3 separate regions of the Homo sapiens genome follow, and all the other regions are linked to region 2. The links are contacts of gene promoters, found by promoter capture Hi-C in human tissues and cell types (Jung and others, 2019). All regions are on one chromosome and are shown on one strand. Each heading gives the region's core, a stretch centred on a gene start or on the middle of the fragment in contact. The rest is flanking DNA. Distances are from core to core; before and after follow the strand shown.

Region 1 (3,924 bases), core at 1,302-3,801, 510 kb after region 2:
TCAGGAGTTCAAGACCGTCCTGGCCAACATGGTGAAACCCCATGCAGGCTCGGAACAGCAAGTGCAAAGGCCCTGAGGCAGGAATATGCCAGGTGGATTCTGGATAGAGGGAGGGGACAGTCTTATCTGATCTCTGCTGGTGAAACCACACCTGGGGTCTGTTGTGTAATTCTGGGTATTATGTAGTTTAAGAGGTTGTCAAATGTGGGCGTTTCATGATGGTGAAGGGCCTGGAAGCAGCTCGTATTAGGAATGGGTTAAGGAAAGAATGACTTGTGCACACCTGGGTGGCTCTCTTCAAGTGGATGAAGTGCAGACACAAGGCAGAGGGCTAAGACTTACTCCATAGAATAACGAGGGCCATTCATTCATTCCTGGTGTGATATACACCAGAACAGGTTAGAGGTTTCCTAAAAGGGATTGAGCTGCCCTGCCTGATAGTAAGCTCCCTGCTATTGGAGATATTCAAGCAAATAGCAGACAGTCTACTAAGTATGTAGATGACTTTCCCATCCCGGGTTGGATTTTGTAATTTGGAACAGGAGACCTCTGAGCCAAAACCCATTCAGAAGATTTGGAATTGCATCCTGACTCCTCTCTCCACTTTCTCTGCCTCTGTTTCCACTCTCCCTCCTTGCTCAGCCTCAGGACAGAGCACACATGCATGCATGCACACTCACATACACACATGTGTGCACACAAGCACACAAGAGGGTAAAGCAATTCAGAAAGCAAGAGAGGAGAAGAGTGTGAGAACCTGAATGGGGAGACCATGAGGGGAAGGAGGCAGGAAAGACAGAGAGGAAGGAATGAAGAAGAAATGAGAAGGAGAAGAAGAATGGCAACATTGAAAAGAGGTCAGGAAAACTGAAGGAGACAGAGAAGGAGGTGGAAGGGAGAGGCTGGAGAAAGATAAGAGAAGAAGTAAGCAACAAGGAAAAATCAAGGAGGAAAGAGGTGCAAGAGGGAAACAGATGGCATTAAAAGCAAAAGGAAGAGTGGCCGGGCATGGTGACTCATGCCTGTAATCCCAGCACTTTGGGAGGCCAAGGTGGGAGGATCGCCTGAACCTACGTGTTCAAGACCAGCCTGGGCAACATGGGGAAATTTCATTTCTACAAAAAATACGACAAAGAAAAAACAGCCAGGCGTGATGTCATGCGCCGGTAGTCCCAGCCACTCAAGAGGCTAAGGTGGAGGATTGCTTGAACCTGGGAGGCAGAGGTTGCAGTGAGCCCTGACTGTGCCACTGCGCTCCAGCTTAGGCGACAGAGAGAGACTCTGTCTCAACATCAACAAAAAAACAAAACAGAGTAAGAGAGAAGGCAAGGAGTGTTAGAGGAAAGGGGAGAAAAGGGAGGGAGGAGAGAGTGAGAAGGCAAGGACGCAAGAGAAAGGAGAGAGAGAAGGAGAGAGGAGATAAGAGAAGGGAGAAGAGGGGCGAGGGAGGCAAGGGTGTGGGTGGGTCTGTTTTGGAGAGTTCACAGTGGCCCCATCATAGCCCCTGGGGCAGCAAATGGGTAATCTTGAATCACAGCTCATTGAGGGCTTCCTGTTTTCAGCTTGTCTTTGTGAACCCTTGGAGGGATTTCCAGCCAGTAAATAAAGCGGAGTGCCAAGACTCCCTGCCCAGGCTAGCAGCCATTTCACCATCCTCAGGGCTGTGTCCCCAGTGCCCTCTCACCCCAACTACCCTCTCTGGCCTGAGGACCATCCCAGAGTCCCCTCCAGCACCCACCCACCGAGGCTCCAGACCACCTCCCCTCTTCGCCAGAATCCTGGAATTCTTCCGGTTCTCAAGAACTTGTGAGGCAGGCAGTAACCCTCAGAGAGCGTAGCACCTACCCAAGAATGCATGGAAATATCCACCTTATAAAAGACAAGTTTCCTTGAAACAGTTTCTTTGCCTTTTTTTGGAACTCTCTTGTTTTTCCTTCTAGTTTCTTGCCCCCCTCCCAAATTATAAGCAGGTCTTGATCCAACCTTCTTAAATTCAATCCAGCAAACTTGTGTAGAGCATGTACAATCTGCTTGGCACCAGTGCAACAGCTGGGGACAACACTCGTCTGTCCTCAAGAAGCTCACAGTCTAATGGGGAGACAGAAATGGTGGTTCCAGGGGTAGAATCCGTTTTTTATTGCCCAGGTGTCATACAATGTGGGAGACCCTCTGTAAAGAAAAAGAACATAAAATCAGCTGGATGTGGTGACGCCTGTAGTCCCAACTACTCAAGTGGCAGAGGTGGGAGGAATGCTTGAGCCCAGAAGTTCAAGGCTGCAGTGAGTCATGATTGCACAACTGCACTCCAGCCTGGGTGACAGAGTGAGACCCTGTCTCTTTAAAAAAATAAATAAATAGAAATAGAAAATAAAATAAAAAGGAACATTTGGCCAGGGCCTCTCCTGAAGCTTTGAAATGCCTGTGTATAAGATACCCGGGCTCACGCCTGTAATCCCAACATTTTAGGAGGCTGAGGTGGGTGGATCACTTGAGGTCAGGAGTTCAAGACCAGCCTGGCCAATATGGTGAAACCACGTCTCTACTAAAAATACAAAAATTAGCCAGCCATGGTGGCACGCACCTGTAGTCCCAGCTACTTGAGAGGCTGAAGCAAGAGAATCGCTTGAATCCAGGAGGCAGAGGTTGTAGTGAGCCAAGATTGCACCATTGCACTCCAGCCTGGGCAACAGAGTAAGTGAGACTGTCTCAAAAAAAAAGAGAGAGAGAGAGAGAGACCTGGGTTCCATGCTCACTGTTGGTGACAACAGAATGGGACCCCAGTGCACAACCACTCAAACGAAGACAGAAGAGAAGGGTTCCCAGAGGGCGCCTGCCCACTCCTGCATTAAACCACTATGTCTGTGCTTTCTCCCTTTGCTCTCTTTGTCTACTCTGTGAAAGAATGCATGATGTATTCCACAAAAATTTACTTAGGGCTTGTATAATAATTGGGATAAATTTCAGCTGCCATAACAAAGACTTACAAAGGCATAAACAAACTAGGACTTTCTTTCTCTGCTCTGCACAAAAGCAGCCCAGGGCTGGCCTGGAACTACCATGGTTTCATGACCATGGACTTCTTCCATCTTACTGATCATCCATGCCTGGTGTGTTGCCCTCAGCTACACTGTCAAAGATGGTCCACACTCCAGCCAGCAAGGGGAGAGAAGCGAGGAGTACAAAGCCCTCCCCTGCCCTTTAACGGCACAGCCTGGAAGTTCATACACCTCTTCCGCTCACATCTTGTTGGCCAAAATGTGGCCACACAGCGGTATGAAGATGCCAGGGAGAGGAGAGAGTGTAAAGTGTACCCTGGATGGACACATGCCCCCCATATCAGGGTGCATCATGACTGTAAAGCAGGAAAATGATGCTGTGGACAGCTAGACACTTCCGAGGTAGCCCACTCTGTGCTCAGGGCTGTCTAGGAAACCAAGGTGCCAAAGAAATTCTGGTTCTTTCCAAGGCCACCAAGGACAGAAATGTGAGTTAAACAAGCCGTCCCTGCAAACGCTCACCCGATTCTTTCATTTTGGCAATTCCGATTCTCTCCACCTGACCCTGAATACTGGCTGAGATGAAACCCCAGGATAATCAAAGGGGCATTGGAAGAAGAGGTGGCAACATAGACTGTGAAGAAGTTGCCAGAAAGAAGGGTGAGAACTGGGAAAACAGTGGTACAGAAATCATATTTCCCAAAGTTCACTAATTTCAGGTGCTACAGAGGGTCAACGCAGGGCAAGGACCAGAGGCATTCTATGGGATTTGCCAAAGAGTGGACTAAAAGGGACCTTGGCCAAATCAGTCTCAGGAGAATGGTAGGGAGTAAAACCTAAAGAAAGTGGGTTGAGGGGCAAGTGGGGAATGAAGATGTAGAGATAGACAGTGGTGCGTAACTGAGGTTCTGAAAAGCAGGAACATGTT
Region 2 (4,452 bases), core at 253-2,752:
CAGAATATCACAGACTGGGTAATTTATAAGGAACAACAATTTATTTAGCTCATGGCTCTGGAGGCTGGGAAGTCCAAGATTGAGGGGCTGCATCTGGTAAGGGCCTTCATGCTGAGTCACCCCATGGCACAAGGCAGAACAAGAGAGCAGCAGAGGGGTGGGGAGAGGGCCACTCCTGGCATTAATGGAATCACCTCTTAAAGGTCCCACCTCTCAACACTGTTGCATTGGGGATTAAGTTTCCAAGATATGAACTTTGGGGAACATATTTAAACCATAGCATCCCCTAAATCCAGCCTAATCCATCATCAAGCCTTCCTGTGCTACTTTTGACACACATTGCAGGAGGTCCACCTTTTCCGTATCTTGCTGTCACCACCCTGGTCTTCATCACCATAATCTCTTGCCTGAATTGTTCCCTCCAGATTGATATGACAAAGCCCTGACCCTCACGGTGGCCTACAAGGTTCTGGGTGATGGTGATTCCACACTAGTCTACCTCTCTGGCTGTAACCCACTCTCCCCTTGCTCACCTCACTCAGCCACCCTGGGGGCCAGTTCCAGCTTCAGAACCATGCATCGGCCGACCCCTCTGTCAGCAATGCTCTTGCTTCAGCCCTGGAATCGTTTTTGTCCTCCAAGTATCCAATATCACAAGCGGCCCGGAGACCACCCTAGGTATAGCAGTCCTAGACCCCTTTCTTTTTCTTTTCTTTTTTTTGGAGACGGCATCTAGCTCTGTTGCCCAGGCTGGAGTGCAGTGGCTCTAACTCGGCTTACTGTAACTTCCACCTCCCGGGTCCAAGCAATTCTGCCTCAGCCTCCCGAGTAGCTAGGACTACAGGTGAGGGCCACCATGCCCAGCTAATTTTTGTATTTTTAGTAGAGACGGGGTTTTATCATCTTGGCCAGGCTGGTCTTGAACTCCCGACCTCGTGATTCACCTGCCTCGGCCTCCCAAAGTGCTGGGATTACAGGCGTGAGCCACAGGCACCCAGCCGACATTCTCTTGTTTTTTTCGTTTGTTGTATATAACCTACCCCCACCTCCACCCCATGCAAAGTCCACGAGGACGATAGACTTTGTCTTGTTCCCTGTTGCATCCTGGCCCTAGGGCCTAGCCCACAACCTGGGACATTTCCTGACAAGGGGCCCTGGTTTCTCTGAGGTGCCACCTGAGGTCCGGGAGGTCAGCTGACTTTCCCAAAGGTGGATTCCAAGGACACTGCATTCTTCGCACTCCCCGAGGGGCGTCTAGACACTCCTGGGACCCAGAATTATTAGCTAACTGGGCTCCTGAGTCCGGTGAGAGCTCAGAGTCTAGAAGCAACTTTCCCTGCCTGGAGAGGTGAACCCAGCAAGGCGTTGGGGAGAGGCGTGGGCGAGGGAGTGGGCGCGGGTGGGCGGGGCCGTCCGGGGGCCTCGTTGCCCGAGCCAATGGGGCGCCGCGGCGCGGGGAGGCCGGGCCGCCGGGCGGGGGCGCTCGCGCGCGTTGAGGGGCAGAGGCTGAGCTCCCGGGACCCGGAGCGGATCGACTGGCGGGCGCCGCGCCGAGGCACCACCGGGCGCCGAGTTCCTGGCGGCTCGCACGGTAAGCGGCGCGGCGCCGCAAAGTAGACTTTGTGGGGTTTCTGACAGCCGGGAGACCCCACCTCGAGCGGGGGCTGCTGGTGCGTTCTCGCGTCGGGCTGCGTCCCCTGGAGCTCCGGCTCTGTGTCCGCGGGATGCGGGCGCACGGAGGGGCAGGGAGGGAGGCAAGGAGCCGCGCACCACGGTGTCTCCCCAGGCTGCCGCTGCCGGGGCCCTGGGCCGGTCCCTGGGACAGACAGATCGGCGTGCGGGGGCCGTCTGCCGGGCCCGGGAGCCGGGGGCGCGCAAGACTGTGGATCCTAAGACTGCCTCCACCCAGCGCCCGGCCCGGGGAAGAGCTTGCGGGAAACCAGGAACCGCAGCGGCCGGACCTCTGCTCTGCGCCGGCTCCTAGGACCTGCCTTAGGTCCCCAGACCCCTCATGACCTGTTGCCTTGGGTTTGGGAGGTCAGGTTTGTCATGCCATTTCCGATTTCCAGTCATCCTGGGGGCAGGATGAAATTTCAGAGTGGTTTCCTGGCCAAGCTAGAAGCAGAGAATAGCTATGGATACAGCACCTCGTGTATCTATCCAGCACTTACTTGGCTTTTTCTGAGTGCCAGGAACTGTGCCAAGCCCTAGCAGCATGAAGAATGGCCTTTGGGGAGCTTCTGGGGCTAAGAGGGACAGTAGGAGGAGCAATTGCAGTGCAGGGTAGTGCGGAAGACTCGAGATGGAGAAGAGGACGGTGAGGAAGCCAGGAAGGTTTCAGAGAGGAGGTGAGCATTGACTGGAAGTCGGAGGTTTTGCCAGGCTGAAAAGTGTGTTGGGACTGTGAGTTGATAGGGAGCAGGAATTCCAGGTGGGTTTTCTTGTGTAAAGGTAAAGAAACTGAAAAGGTCCGGTGTCCTGACCTAGCACATCAGATAATTCTACAGCAGATAATGGAGTAGGACCGGGTCTTGCTGTAGGTAGGAAATGAGCTCTCGACATGGCAGGAAGCTAAAACCTGCACAGACCTTAAAGTGCAGCCTTAGAATATTTAGAATTTTATCCTGGAATGAAGGAGGGCCGTGGAAGAATTCTGATCAGTGATCAGGTCCCTCTGGCAGCTCTGGGGACAATGGATGGAGGCCGGAGCATCAGAAAGCTGGTAAGTTGTAGTTGTTTTCTGGTCCTTGGCTGCAAATACTCTTCCCTGCTTAAGGGAGCCCCCTCTGCCCGGGAGCCCTGCTCCCTGGCTTCTGGACATGGATTCAGGCAAAGAGATGCTGCCCGTGTAATGCTTGCTTCTGCAGCCTGCACATCATTTTGATATTGTTTCTGGAGCCTGTGACCTCAGTCTTGTCATCAGGCCTCTGAAGGGTGCCTCTGCTCTTCTTTTCTCATCTTCAAGCCCTCTGTGTGCCCTTCCCCTCTGCCTGGGCTCCCCTTTCTGTTTCACAGAGATCCAGTCTCAGCCATTGGAGGCAAGGCTGTGTGTAGATTGGTGTAGTAGAAAGAACAAGGGCTCGCTGGGAAATCAGACCAGAAAGTCACTTTAGCCATAGGCTTTGGGGACATTAGCAACCTTCATGAACCTTCTTTTTCTGATTTAAAAGGAAATCATTGTACTCACCTGTCATGGTTTGGGTTCCCTGGAAAAAGACTTGGCGCTTCTGAGATTTTTGTGCAGATAAGGGAAGCAGAACTGGGCAGAGGGAGATGTTGATCTATGGTGCAGTGCAAGAGAGGTCTCAATCCCTCCCATGAGACAAAGAGACGAGGCCTTTGAAGCTTAATGTTGATCAGCCAGTGGGTGCAGGCTGGTCCTAGGGAGGGAGCTAGGATGTCCCTTCAGCAGGACAGTTCCTGACTAGGGACTCACCTGGGAGCTGGGGTAACCAACACTCTGGCAGCTGGACATGGGGAAGTCATGAGTGTCTTGGTCTTGGAGGGGGAGTTGAGCATTTCCCCACGGTATCCACTACACTACCTCACAAATGAAGTAGTGCTTTGTACTGTGCCTGGTGCATAGTAGATATCTTAAAAGTATTCATTTCTCTCACCTTTAAGTTTCATGACTGCACCTGAAAATGAGTTTTGGAATTCGAGTTGAGTCAGCTTTTGTGAGGAGCTTTTAATAATAATAGCCACGAAGACTACTGCTTCCCTTTTTTGAGTGTCTATTATGTATATACATTCTCTTCTAGTTGTCCAATAATACTCCAACTTAGGTACTTTTATTCTCATTTTATAGTAAACCCAGTCTCTTCCAAAACCCAACCAAGTTGATGTTCTTTTGCCACAAAATAATAATTATAATAATAACAATCACTCACAACTCTATGATTTGTTACACTTTCCAAAGTGCTTTCATTGGTGGATTGATTGATTAATCATTCATTCATCCACTAATTAATCAATCAATGTGTATTGAGTGTCTCTTAAGGAGTAGGCGCTATCCTAGGTGATGGGGAGAAAGCTCAGTCTATTAGAGGAGATAGACATTAAATGCTTGGATTCATCAAAAGCAAGTGTTGAGGGGTGGAACATTGCATTGCATAGCCAGTATGTGATAGAGAATAACAGGCTCTTTGTCCAATTGACTCCTTGCCTTCAGTTTCAATATAACCTTCTTGGAAAGGCCTTCTGTACTCCCTCCCTTTTATTCTCCCTTCGTAACAGTCATTTATCTATTTTATTTACTTTCCTATTGTTGGTCCTCCCCTTTAGACTGCAGACTCCAGGGGATCATACATTGCTTCATCCCAAGAGCCTACCACAGGGTTTAGCACATATTTCTTAAATGAGTGAAATGAATGAAGGGTGGATGTGCTTAACAGTGTAGTCAGGGAAGGTCTCCCAAAGTAGTGATATTTACACTGAGATCTGGGGAATGAG
Region 3 (4,301 bases), core at 27-2,526, 650 kb after region 2:
GAGTGATTACAACTTAAAAGTAAGACCAAAAGCACTTACTTATTTGTGATCACATTGTCAGCCAGTTGGCGTTATAGAACGGATTTGAAGCTCCATCTGGAATTTGAAGCTGGGTAGAACTTGTTTCTCAGCTAACCTTGAACAATAATAGCAAGTGACCTACCATTTGTTTTGCACTTACTATATTCCAGGCATGTTACTAGGTGCTTTGCAGAGATTATCTCATGCAATACTTACAGTGACTCTAAAAGGAGCTCCCTTCCATCTTGCATCTCAAACATCCTTCTAGGCTTTGTTGTCTTAGTAGCCCTAATGACTACCTCTTCACGTTATACAGTCTAAAAACATGAATATAATTCATGCTAAAAATCAAGTGTGTTGTCTTTTCTAATACCCAATTTTTGTCTTCAGGTGTTGGTGGCTTCCTGCCAGCCATGAAACAGATTGGCAATGTGGCAGCCCTGCCTGGAATTGTTCATGTGAGTCAGAGTTCAGAACTTTAATCATTTATATTTCTTAAAGTCCATTGAATGGATGAATGGCCATGCCTGATAGTGGTGTCATTTAGACAATGACCTTTGGACAGCCAGACATAACCATGAAGCCAGGCTCAGTGGCTCATGCCACCCGCAACACTTTGAGAGACCAAGATGGAAGGATTGCATGAGCCCAGGAATTCAAGACTAGTCTGGGCAACATGGCAAGACCCTGTCTATACCAAAAAAATTAGTCAGGTGTGATGTCACATGCTTGTTGTCCCAGCTACTTAGAATGCTAAGTGGGAGGATTGCTTGAGCCCAGAGTTCCACACTGCACTGAGCCATGATCACGCCACTGCACTTTTAGCGTGGATGGCAGAGTGAGACCCTGTCCCTAAAAATAAAAAATAAAAGGAAATAACCATGGACCTAAAGAAATAATTGAATCTGGATGGTATTTCAGTTTCTGAATGCATTTGGCTAGAATCTGTAAGTGTTAAGAACCTTCGAAGTAGTTTTTGTGTTTTGTTTCTTATCATGGTAACATTATTCCTGGATCAGTGCACCACCATTGTAAGTTTCATTGTAAGTTTCACTTCACTGTTTCAATGTAAGTTTCATTGTAAGTTTCGCTTGGTTGTAAGTTTCACTTCCTATGCAGAGGATCATTGAAGAAGAAATGGCAAGAAGTTTAAGGGTTAGCACTGAGGGGGAGGAAGAGAGGACAGCATAGCCCCCACCACAGTTTAACATTCATATTCTATCAGAGGTAGATGTTGAAAATGGATCTATTCGGCAGACATTTTTGAGGTCTTCTTTATGCCAGTTACCATGTTGGGCACTTGGTAGAGGGAATGAAATGGTATGGCTTGTGTATATAAGGAAGTTGTTAGTGTCTGGGTATCTCCATATATCCTGTGTTTGACCTGCATTCTTCCTGGGTCAGGGTCCTTTTCTAGGCTCCACATGTAGGAAGTCTACAGTATTTATACCATCAAATGGATTACATTTGGCTGTGATTACTTAAACTAATGACCTATATAAATCAGTTATTTTCCTCTTCTTAACCTGACAAACCAAAGTTTGTCAGTGTCTTAAGATTATTTTTAAAATGTAATAGTACATTAAACTTAGTATGTGTTACTCCTATATCATGTTATTTTGAGGCTTTTCTGTTTTGTATTTCCTTAATTAACATTCAGATCTTATAAAAAAGTTTTTTTCTCACTGTATTTAGCTTTGTGATTAGGAGTTCTTACTATTTCCATGCATATAGAAGATTTTGTGAAAACACAGTCTTGATTTAGGGAAAGCTTCAGCCTGCAACCTGTTTGAGAATCAGTGTCAGGTCCATCAGGGCATCCAGGGTAGCAGGTCAAGACACTTGTATTTCATTTTCTAATTCTTTTTCAGCGATCTATTGGGCTTCCTGATGTCCATTCAGGATATGGGTTTGCTATTGGGAACATGGCAGCCTTTGATATGAATGACCCTGAAGCAGTAGTATCCCCAGGTAAGATCACTGTGGACATCTGCTGTTAAGTGTGTAGCATTGGCCGGGCACGGTGGCTCACGTCTGTAATCCCAGCACTTTGGGAGGCCGAGGCGGGTGGATCATGAGGTCAAGAGATCAAAACCATCTTGGCCAACATGGTGAAACCGTGTCTCTATTAAAAATAGAAAAATTAGCTGGGGGTGGTGACGCGCACCTGTACTCCCAGCTACTTGGGAGGCTGAGGCAGGAGAATCACTTGAACCCGGGAGGCGGAGGTTGCAGTGAGCCGAGTTCGTGCCACTGTACTCCAGCCTGGTGACAGAGCAAGACCCCATCTCAAAAAAAAATGTGTGTAGCTTCTCTCTATGGACCATAGCCTTTGTGAAACAGAGCACTTCTCTCCATGTGCATGACTCAGTCTCATCATGTTCTGTCATTTTTCTTTGATATTTACTGGAAGTATTGCTTGTGGATACTGAGAGGCTATTACAACTTCAAGCAAAGCATATTTTTATTGAAAATTTTGGGAGGCTCCTACCAAACATCATGGTATTCAGACTTTGGCTACAAAACAAACTGGCAATTTTTTTTTATCTTTGTAAATCAGTTACCTCGTGGACAGATCACGTCTAATAATGTTAATGACCACACAGTATTAGTAGCTTAGATGAGTTCAGCTGTGTAAAATATTTAGAACAGTGCTAAGCAGGTAGAACATATTCAGTAATACTATCATTGTTATTCAATGATAACATTGAATATACAGAAGGTTGCATACGCCTTCTGCTGTGGTTATGGGGTGCTTTCAATAAACATTCTATATCAGAAGTAATATCTTTGCTGTTAAAGAGTGTGAATTTAGAAATGAAGTTTAAATGACATCTTGAGAGTTCTGTTTCTAGCAGTGGTGGACTAGGTTGTTTCAGACCAATCCCCTGCTGAAAATAATTAGAAAGGCTGGGTAAAAAATTTTTTCTTAAATCTGTTTGAAGGCACAGAAAATCTGCTAAGGCAGTAAGAATTTGCGAAGTCAAGATCTAGAGGAAAAGAAGAAAAAGTTCCAGATATGTGAGCCCTACATGTAGGGCTGTTTGGAGGTGACTGCAAATTTCAGTCAGTAAGAATATACATGATTTGAATGATCCAATAACAAACTTGACACGTGACCTCTAATATACATGTGTGGTTGTGTGTGTGTATGTGCACTTGCATTGTAGTACAGCCAAGCAGTGCAGAGTATACATTTTTTTTCAAATGCACACAGTTTACCAAAACTGACCACATGCTGAGCGGTAAAGCAGGCATCAAATTTCAAAGCATTGAAATCATATAGACCAGCAGTCCTCAAACTTTTTGCACTCGGGACCACTTTAGTAATAATTATTGAGGATTAATCTCAGACTCTTATCAATGTTTACCTTATTAGAAATTAAAACACATTTTTTAAAGACAAGAATATATAAGTACATGTCTCATCCATTAGAACAAAGATGTTATGTCATATAGCTTTTGAGAAATCTCACTGTACAGTCATGGGAGAATATGAATAAAATAGACAAATAATGTCTTAGTATTATAAAATGAATCTTACACACCTGAAATGGTCTTCCCCCTCACCCCCACCCCAGGGTCTCTGGACCATACTAAAGAACCCACTCATATAAGAGGATATTTTCTGACCACAGTGGAATTAAATTAGAAATGGTTTAAATAAAAACTAGACCTAGCACTTTGGGAGGCCAAGGCGGGCGGATGGCTTGAGCTCAGGAGTTTGAGAACAGCCAGGGGCAACATGACAAAACCCCGTCTCTAAAAAAAAAAAAATACAAAAAATTAGCCGGGCATGGGGGCATGCGCCTGTAGTGCCAGTTACTTGGGAGGGCCAAGGTGGGAGGATCACTTGGGTCTAGGAGGCAGAGGTTGCCGTGAGCTGAGATTGCGCCACTGCAGTCCAGCATGGGCGACAGAGTGAGACCCTGTCTCAAAAACAAACAAACAAACTAGAAAAACTTTGGGAGGCCAAAGCAGGAGGATCACATGAGACCAGAAGTTTGAAACCAGCCTGCACAACATAGGGAGACCCCCATCTCTACAAAAAGTTTTAGAATAGCTGGGTATGGTGGCGCACATCTGTAGTTCTAGCTACTGGGAAGGCCGAATCCAGAGAACCACCTGAGCCCAGGAAGTTGAGGCTACAGTGAGCTATGATCACACCGCTGCACTCTAGTCTGGCATGATCTCAAAAAAGAAAATCCATATATTTGGAAATTAAGTAGTATACTTTTAAGTAACCCATGAGTCAAAAACAAAACTATGGAAATGAGAAA

What was found. Contacts are between HindIII fragments. The study calls those that stand out against the background at their distance.
Region 1: a fragment that was not itself captured here is called in contact with the fragment with the promoter of SYN3 in region 2 in 1 of the 25 tissues and cell types used here (mesendoderm cells).
Region 3: a contact is called between a fragment that was not itself captured here and the fragment with the promoter of SYN3 in region 2, in 2 of the 25 tissues and cell types used here (dorsolateral prefrontal cortex and mesendoderm cells).

What each region holds. Positions count from the first base shown.
Region 1 is chr22:32,544,361-32,548,284 of GRCh38, reverse strand. All of the region lies in intron 7 of SYN3 (synapsin III), which reads left to right. LOC124905103 (a long non-coding RNA gene) reads right to left here. Exons shown (of 3, transcript XR_007068067.1): 3 at 1-2,169. Among named protein-coding and RNA genes, the nearest start is that of SYN3-AS1, 29 kb to the left of the region's middle. The HindIII fragment of the contact is 3,664 bases long and covers 720-3,924 here.
Region 2 is chr22:33,055,431-33,059,882 of GRCh38, reverse strand. SYN3 (synapsin III) reads left to right here and starts at 1,502. Exons shown (of 14, transcript NM_003490.4): 1 at 1,502-1,591. The HindIII fragment of the contact is 13,516 bases long and covers 1-4,452 here.
Region 3 is chr22:32,404,353-32,408,653 of GRCh38, reverse strand. It overlaps RTCB (RNA 2',3'-cyclic phosphate and 5'-OH ligase), which reads left to right. Exons shown (of 12, transcript NM_014306.5): 3 at 412-479; 4 at 1,893-1,992. Among named protein-coding and RNA genes, the nearest start is that of RTCB, 5.7 kb to the left of the region's middle. The HindIII fragment of the contact is 5,840 bases long and covers 1-4,196 here.